2 separate regions of the Homo sapiens genome follow, and region 2 is linked to region 1. Evidence: promoter capture Hi-C in human tissues and cell types (Jung and others, 2019). All regions are on one chromosome and are shown on one strand. The core of a region is centred on a gene start or on the middle of the fragment in contact, and the rest is flanking DNA. Distances in the headings are between cores, read along the strand shown. Region 1 holds the start of PDGFRL (platelet derived growth factor receptor like). Region 2 overlaps CNOT7 (CCR4-NOT transcription complex subunit 7).

Region 1 (4,245 bases), core at 1,112-3,611:
TGTGATGAAATAGCTACGTGTCTTGGGAAGCCCTTATACTTCTTATGAATTCTGTTCCCATCTTAATACAGACCCCTGTATTAATTTGCTGGGGCTACCATAGCAAAGAACCACAGAGTGCGTGGTTTAAAGAACAGAAATGTATTCTCTTATAGTTCTGAATGGCAGAAATCTGAGAGCAAGGTGGCAGAAGAATGGGTATTCTCTGAGGCCTCTCTTCTTTGCTTTTATTTATTTATTTATTATTTATTTATTTTGAGACAGTCTCTCTCTGTCGCCCAGGCTGGAGTGCAGTGGTGCCATCTCAGCTCACTGCAACCTCGCTTCCCAGGCTCAAATGACTCTCTCGCCTCAGCCCCCCAAGAAGAGCCTCTAAGCGGCAAGAGAAAGAGGGACGACTCTCGGCTAAATGTAGCTGAGCCAGGGCAGTGAAGCTTGACAATAATGGCACAAGAGAGGTGGACCTGGCACATGCATAGTCAGCATGGAGGGGATACTGCGACCGAGAGGAGGAATCTAGACCCAACCCCAGGCTCCAACATGGAGTGAGAGTTAAGCAGTCAATTCATGGGGTCAGAATGAAAAGAAATCTCACGGTGGGGCAATTTAGGCAGATTTACTCTCTCCTGTGTGCATGCTCCAAGTCCTTTGCTCAGAATTCTCCCCAGAACCTGACACACCACATTGCAGTGGTCTAAATGCTTGTTCACTCCTTAAAAGTAGCCATGAGAGATGATGTCTCAACCTTCATAGCCGTAATGTTAATCACATAGCAAACTCCTGTTGAAATAATCACCTAGTTCCCTTTCTTAATAAACAAGAGATGCTAAAACCCAGAAGGTTAAGTGAATTCTGAGAGGCATGGAGAGTTTGTGCCAGTGTCAGCATCTGAACTCTGGTCTTTATTCCCAGCCAACTGCTCTCTGCATCGCAAGGCAAGCGAGTGGCAAAGCTCCGGCTAGAGCTGGCAACAGAATATAGAATTCTTGGTTCCTCCTGCAGAAGTGACTGAGAAGCATTAGTTTGTTATAAATGGCAGCACTTCTTTCGTTGGGTGTTGAGGGACAAGTCCCTTTCCTGTTATTTAGAATTGAGCTCCCTTTAATAGCAGTGCCTGGTGCTGAAGATTACAATGAGATGGGCTGCTTCTCACCGGGGGAACACACACAGGCATCTCCCCCGCTAGCAAACTGCTTTGATCATGAGAGTCTGCAAGCTCAGAAACGCAGGATGGCTCTCTGCAGAGGGACTTGTGAAAGCCCGTATCTTCTGCCCCACTGTTACCTGATAGAGTTGTCCAGGTTCTTGGCCTGTTGAACAAAAAATTGAACGAAATGCACGGAGTAACGAAAGAAAGAAGCAAGGAAAAACAAAGCAACAGAAGGGAGGAAGGAAAACGTAGATTTATAGAAGACAATTCACAGAGGGCGCTGCAGCAAGCCACAAGAGCCTGACGCTCCCCAGGGATTTTATAAAGCGAAAAGAACTTGGCAACACCCTTGGGTTCCCTTTAGAGGCCTCCAACTGGTTACACCTTACGAAGGACTGGCCTGCGACCAGTCCGAGGCTGAAGTGGAAACTTCTGCCTTGTTATCAGAGGAGCGAGGATGTGGCCTGTGTGCCGCCTAATCATGCCTAGAACTGTCTGCACCTGCTGATCTTTTGCTTCTGCGAACTGGCTGCACCTGCTGTTCTCCTGCTCATACCCTAGCCCGTGCTTACCCTAATTCCCTGTTCTCCTGCCTCACCACCAGAGGCCCGGGTTGTCTGCACAGTCTCATTTTCCACGTTATTCCTGTAATGAACCCGTCCTCCCACCCCCACCAGCAGTTACAGGGCTGGGTGCGGAGACCAACTCTGGCCAGACACAGAGGAGCAGCAAGAACCCGGGGCAACGGTCCTGTGAGTGAGTGCATGTGGGGGAGAGAAATGGAATGAACAGAAATAATTTAGGAAGCACTTTTTACAGAGCACTCAGGTTCTGCCTGAGGAGGTGGGGCGGGCGCTGGTAACATTTGGACAATCGTGGTTAAAAGTGACCCCATCAGCACCCGCTGATCCTTCTTGAACTTGATAACCTTGGTGAAAACGCCAAGCGTTGGAGAAATTCAAGGAATGGCTGTTGTAATGTACATTTCACGCTTAGCCTTTCCTCCCCGCGCTGGGAAGAAGTGCTGCGCACCGCGGCTCCGCCAGGGGGCAGGAGAAGTCACATTACACAGAGAACTAAAAAAAAAAAAAATTCCCCAACTTTTTCCCCCAAACCTTGTTCCTCCTGAAGAAACCGAATCCTCCCGCTTCGGCGTCCCAGGAGCCCGCCCCTCGCCCGCCGCCTCCCCTGCGTCCCCGCCCCGCGCAGCCGCCGCGCTCCTGCGCTCCGAGGTCCGAGGTTCCCGAGATGAAGGTCTGGCTGCTGCTTGGTCTTCTGCTGGTGCACGAAGCGCTGGAGGATGGTGAGTGACTCTGGGCGCGGGGCCACCTAGCTTGTGCCCTGACTTTAGCCGGGACCCGAAGCCCCCGCCGCCCTCCTGCCAGCTCTTGGTCTAACGTTCGGCCCTCGGTGGCTCAGCCCCCGCGCCACTGCCTGCCCGGTGCACCTGCCCCCTCCTGGTGGGGTCTCCTTTCCTCCCACTCTTTGCCTGCCCGGAGAGCCCTCTAGGGGTGGTGGCAGCTACCCCGACCCTTAGGAGCCCACCAGGACCTCTCCAAGTCCCCATCTCCGGGCGAACCAAGCATCCCCAGCCAGCGCCTGGTCCAGCCCCCAGTGTCAACGTGTCGGTCTGGGAGGTGGGGCGGGAGCCTCGGATCGCTTCCACCTCCCAGCGGCGTGGCTGGGACCTCTGCTGCTGAGAGCGAGTGCCACCTAAGCTCGGCAATCGCTGATTCGGTTGCAGAGTTCCAGGTGACCTCCCCCTCCCCTCGCAGTTCTGGGCGTGTTTTCGTCTACCACCTTTTGCTTGAATCCTGCAAGATCTGCCTAGATCTTCGAACAAAAATGTCAGTGTATGAAACTTCAAAACGAATCAAAAGCCCACGGCTTATTATATTTATCTAATTGGATGGGAAATGGTGAAGAAAATGCATTTTTTTGGTACAGCTTATGGGACCATGACCGCTGCGCGTTTTTGAATGTGTACCTGTCCTGGGTCCACCCTGTCGTGTACACCCGTGACCACAGGGTCTGGTGTTATTTTTCTGTGTGTCTGGGTGTGTGTATTACTGTGGTGTGTATTATATATTATTGTTAGCATTTAAATGTTTTGTTTGCTCTATTCACTCCATGGGTGTTATTTGTACAGTACATGTTTCATCTGGGTGCCTCCTGGTGTCCTCAACCCTCTCTTGAAATTCCTGGGCTACAACACAATTTTTGCTTAGATTTAGTGGAAAAGTAGCTTTTGCTGTTATGCAACTTCATGCTGGAGCCAGCTCGACCTGGCTCACATTTTTATCCACTCGTTCATCCTGACCAGTTCCTTTCTTTCCTAGGAAACTACATTTGCCAAAAAAATACCGCATTGTAGTTTGCAAAATCCAAGATAGTCGTGGTACTTGAAGTTGAGCATGAGGGTCCTTCAGCCTAGAGCTTTGCTTAATAAAACGTAGGCAGAGCTTCTACTGGGAGAGTAACACTTAACTCTGCCCAGAGAGAAGTTGCCATGAGTTCAGTTTGTAAAATGCAATATTAAAATGCTCCTGGCAGGCCCTTGTGTGCAACCGCTGAAAAGGCAGAAATGTAATTTGTAGTATCATTTTTTGAATAGGGCAGGAGATGGCCAGGCAAAATAATTTCAAATCAGCCATTCCTTTGTTTATACCCAACTTGCCAGTCTTAGAGGCTCAGAAATTGACTTCCATTCTGCCTCCTGGATCTCACCCAGCCCATGTGAGTTTATTACAAACATCTGACTAAATTTACCCTTTCTTTAAGTGTAATCCATACAAACAATAAGCATTTATGAGACAATTGGAGAAAGTGGAATACAGACTGAATGTAAGAAATAGTTCATAAATTTTAGGTGATAATAGCACGAAGATTTTGTTTATAAAAGTACACACATCTGGCCGGGCACAGTGGCTCATGCCTGTAATCCCAGCACTTTGGGAGGCCAAGGCAGGTGGATCACAAGGTCAGGAGTTCAAGACCAGCCTGGCCAAGATGGTGAAACCCCGTCTCTACTAAAAATATAAAAATTAGCCGGGCGTGGTGGTGGGCACGTGTAATCCCAGCTACTTGGGAGGGTG
Region 2 (4,245 bases), core at 607-3,106, 340 kb before region 1:
TTAGGTTCATAAACTGTCTTAAATCTGTATGCAAGGCTGAGCTGGCTATAAATGATCAAACCATAAAGTCATGGACAGTAAAATCCAAACATTCACACTCTATTACTGTCCTTGAAGAAGCCAAGAAAAATAAAGATAAATTAGTGCCAGAAATCCACCTTTAGTTAAATAAACCATTAAGACATTTTTAAAATGCAAAGCTAAAAAATCCAAAAGGTTGTTTCAATTATCTAATGAAACAATTGGAAGGAGTCCAAAACAAAATATTTACGTGTCATGAATGGATAGTCCAAATCACTTCTGAATCAACAACACTACTTAGCAAAACAGCTTTAATGCTTTCTATTATCAATACATTGCTACAAAAAGTTTTAAATTCTCAGTCTCAATTTAATGTCTAAGAGAAAATATACTCAAATCCACAGCGAATTTTTCCAAAAGGGAAAACTTATAGTCAAGAAAAACCTCACTTGTTTTTTGCACAACCAATTTTCCTGTTTACCTATAGCTAGGTGTATCTGTGCACATCACTTAATTACTTAGGAGTAGATAATGGGTTCATTTAGTTTCATTCTTCCATCCCTAACACTTTATACTCAAGGAACTGATCTCTGCCTTTTGCCGTTTAAGGAGGGTTTTCCTAATATGGTTTCTGATGCAACTACTACGTTGGATTTATTTGATCCCTTCGGAATTCAACCCCCCTTTTAAGACTCAATGCAGTAAAAGAGCCTGAGTTCTTCTCTATAAAATCTTCAAAGCACTGAAGAATGACATGAGCAAATAATATATTTATCACCAGTTTAAACCTTAAAAGGGGTCATGCTAGAATAAACCTAATATAAAGATTCCTTGCCTTGTAGGAGGAGCACCAATGGGAGTCAGAAAAGAACTCTGGAGTTCTCCCACTAGTAATGTGTTTAATCATGGAAGTTATTAGCCTGTTTTCTCACCTGAGAAATAATATGGTTGGACCTACATGACTTCTCAGGTAGTTTATGTTTTAAAATTGTTGGTTCTATGATGAACATGTTCTCCCAGTTCCTTCTGAACTACATTTCAAGATGACTTATTTTTGAATACTTTTAAGTGTGGTGGATGTGACTCATATGGTATCTCTAATTATATCTTTACTTAGTAGGTACTTGTTGCCCAAAATCTTTGGCCACAAGATTTTTAATGTTCTCAACCTAACAACCAACTGAGAAAAAGGCAGTGATGTCTTCATACTTCTCTCATTTTGAAAAAGGCCATTCCTGTGAGCAATGAATCAGATCCTGCCTGATGTTGTGGTCCTATCCGTTCCAGCTCTAACTGTTCTGCCACCTCCTGTAATCCACCCTAGAAAAAATAAAAAATTGCTTGTCAAGAAGAAAAATCTTACAAGGCCTAAATTCACAAATTATAAACTTAGACGCTGACCAAAATAAAAATAAACTTTAGTATGTAAAGGTGAATCTTATAAAGATTGGGGGGAAGAAACAGAGAATGTGAATTACTAATGTATTTGTTGAATGCGGAAAAAGTATCATTTAATAGAAAACAAGATCCTAATTGGGAAAATGTATTTTCATCATGTTTTAGGGCATATGACAGGTAAATACTCTCCTAGATATGGGAAGGAAGCAGACCACATATAGGGTAATATTTATCAAGTACACTCATAGTCTATCAATCCAGTAATAATTATAAAACTGAAAAGCTAGTATAACACCATTTTTTTCATATTTTCTTAAACTTCCCACCATCCATTTGTAGTTTTCACTTAATTTTTACAAAACAAAGCCATTATGAATAATCATTAAGAGTATGCTAAATGCTTCACTATGGTTTTCTTAGTTAAGACGAGTATATGCACACAACTCCTTAGAGTGGTCTGCTATAATCCACCTATGTTAATACTCCTAAGATTAAAAAAGAAAGATGAGAGTGGAAAGAGTGGAAAGAAAGAAAGAGAAAGACAGTAACAGAAGGAAAGAAAGTGGGAGGACAGGCAAGGAGAGTAAAGGGAGGGGAGAATAAGTAGAGCGTGAAGGAAAGAAACACCAACAACAAAACAAAAATTCTTCTCTAACTTGTTAAGGCCTCCACCGGCAAAATGGCCCTTCTGTGCATCACAGCTTGAAACAAGGCTTTGCACAGCAGTTGCTTCTGCGCTAAAAATAGCACGAGGATTAGGTATCGTTAGCAGCTGCTTAGGAGAACAGAACTAGAACTGAATAGAACAGCATGGCTGACTATAGGTCAAAAAGCACCTTTGTCGTTAACCTGAATTTTAACACAGCAGCTTACTCAGGACACATTCAGAATATCTGTACTTAGAAACTTCCCAGTAACAACCACATGATGAGCAATAATTTGGTTCCCTGTTCCTGAAAACTATCATTATACAGACATGTCAATTAAAAAAAAAGTCAGATGAAAACATGTAGGCCTCAGCATGCAGTGCTTTCACAGGGTGGGCTGAATTTCTCAAGCAAGGGATACCCTACTGCAAGTTCACTTCCTGGAAGTCCCCTCAAATTACACAGAAGTCTACTGCTACAAACATAAAATAATCTTTCTTGAAAATTTCTCTAGTCATATGCTGACCATATCATGTATTAAAGGTAAACACTGGCCAAAAGAAAGCTTCTCATCTTCAGTTATCTGTTAAGACCAGCGTGACCAACACGGTAAAACCCCGACTCTACTAAAAATACGAAATTTAGCTGGGTGTGGTGATGGACACCTGTTAATTCCAGCTACACAGGAGGCTGAGGCAGGAGAATCACTTGAACCCGGGAGGCGGAGGTTGCAGTGAGCCGAGACCACGCCACTGCACTCCAGCCTGGGCGACAAGAGCAAGGCTCCGTCTCAAAAACAAAAAAAGAATTAATGTTTAGAATTTAAAAATACATGTTATGCAGCGTCAAAATGTTACTACTATCTAGGCAGGACCTACACATTTCCCATAGTACTTAACTGTAACAAGCTGACATCTTTTGGCCACAGAAAAATCTTTTAGCTATATAGTTTAATCCTAGGAGCATTATCCTATCACTAGAACTGACAAAATAATTTCTAGCCAAGATAAGCCAAAAGGAAAGAAAAACTTTTGCCACACTACTAAATACATCTGCATATCGCTGGCCACCTTAGATTCCACCTTGTAAGAACAGATTCTATGCGTCTTGGGAGAAAGTAACAACTCACAATGGCGTGCATATGAGAGCCTCAATGTCCTCAGATTTGTGTTTTGGTTTGTGATTTTCAATCTGGCAAGCAGTGACAAGAACCGGACCTAAGCCTGAAATGTGTTGAAAATTCTGCCTTCTGCCAAGACATACTGAAGCTCTGAAAAAAGGATTCCCTACAAATTATGTATGCAAGAAAAAAAATCACATGACCAGATAATATAATTGCATTCACTGTAATACTTTAAAATATGGTTTAAAACAACATCCCAGCCTAGGCTCGCATGACAGTCACTTGGTCTGAACAGTGTGCTGCTGTAGATAATGCCATCCGAAGCCTTACTTTGAGATTTTTGCAGCTCTTCATGAGGTACTTCACATCATAAATGACAGGAAAAAACAATCGAAGGATCTCAAAGAAGTCAAGTTCTTCTTCAGGCAAGTTAGAGTTGGTTAGGATTTTGATTAAGTAGCCAAAGTCGTAACCGCTATAAAAGGGTTAAAAGAATAGAGAAGAGGGACATATAAATACTATAAAGATTAAAAAAAAAAGTTTTTCTGATTCAAATTTAAGCAAGTCACACTAGAGCCCTCCCAAAAACATTAAAGAGAAGTGCACACAAGAACAGAGAAAACAAACATATTGAGAACTATGAGAAAATGTCGTCATCTTACAGTATTAAGAACTTTATCACTTTATTATTCAGAGATATCAACACAGACCTACACTACCAAACCAGCCTATGGTCAATAAAATACTATTTTGTTGATATCTGAATAGAGAACACCAAGAAGAGTATCAAGCTGCCCACAGATGTCTCAAAATATTTTTTAAAGTAACTATGGAAATGGAGAAATAAAGATGAATGGAAACTTGGCCAGAAGAGTTAGCAAAGGTAGCAAGAGAACTGGCATTCGGTAGACAAAAGTAATGCAAGTCATCCCACTTTTACATAAGGTGGTCATATACTTTATCCAAAGAATAAGACTGTAACAAGGTATTTTCACTTCTCTTAAATGACTGTGTTAAGTAGTCTCTCCCTTTTCTTCCTTCACAATTCTCTTCCTT

The links. Contacts are between HindIII fragments. The study calls those that stand out against the background at their distance.
Region 2: a fragment that was not itself captured here is called in contact with the fragment with the promoter of PDGFRL in region 1 in 1 of the 25 tissues and cell types used here (dorsolateral prefrontal cortex).

What each region holds. Positions count from the first base shown.
Region 1 is chr8:17,574,855-17,579,099 of GRCh38, forward strand. PDGFRL (platelet derived growth factor receptor like) reads left to right here and starts at 2,362. Exons shown (of 6, transcript NM_001372073.1): 1 at 2,362-2,453. The coding sequence starts at 2,399. RefSeq lists silencers at 2,568-2,627, 2,718-2,767. The HindIII fragment of the contact is 19,467 bases long and covers 1-4,245 here.
Region 2 is chr8:17,231,197-17,235,441 of GRCh38, forward strand. It overlaps CNOT7 (CCR4-NOT transcription complex subunit 7), which reads right to left. Exons shown (of 7, transcript NM_013354.7): 5 at 3,520-3,664; 6 at 1,231-1,341. Among named protein-coding and RNA genes, the nearest start is that of CNOT7, 14 kb to the right of the region's middle. RefSeq lists an enhancer at 1,937-2,439. The HindIII fragment of the contact is 7,978 bases long and covers 1-4,245 here.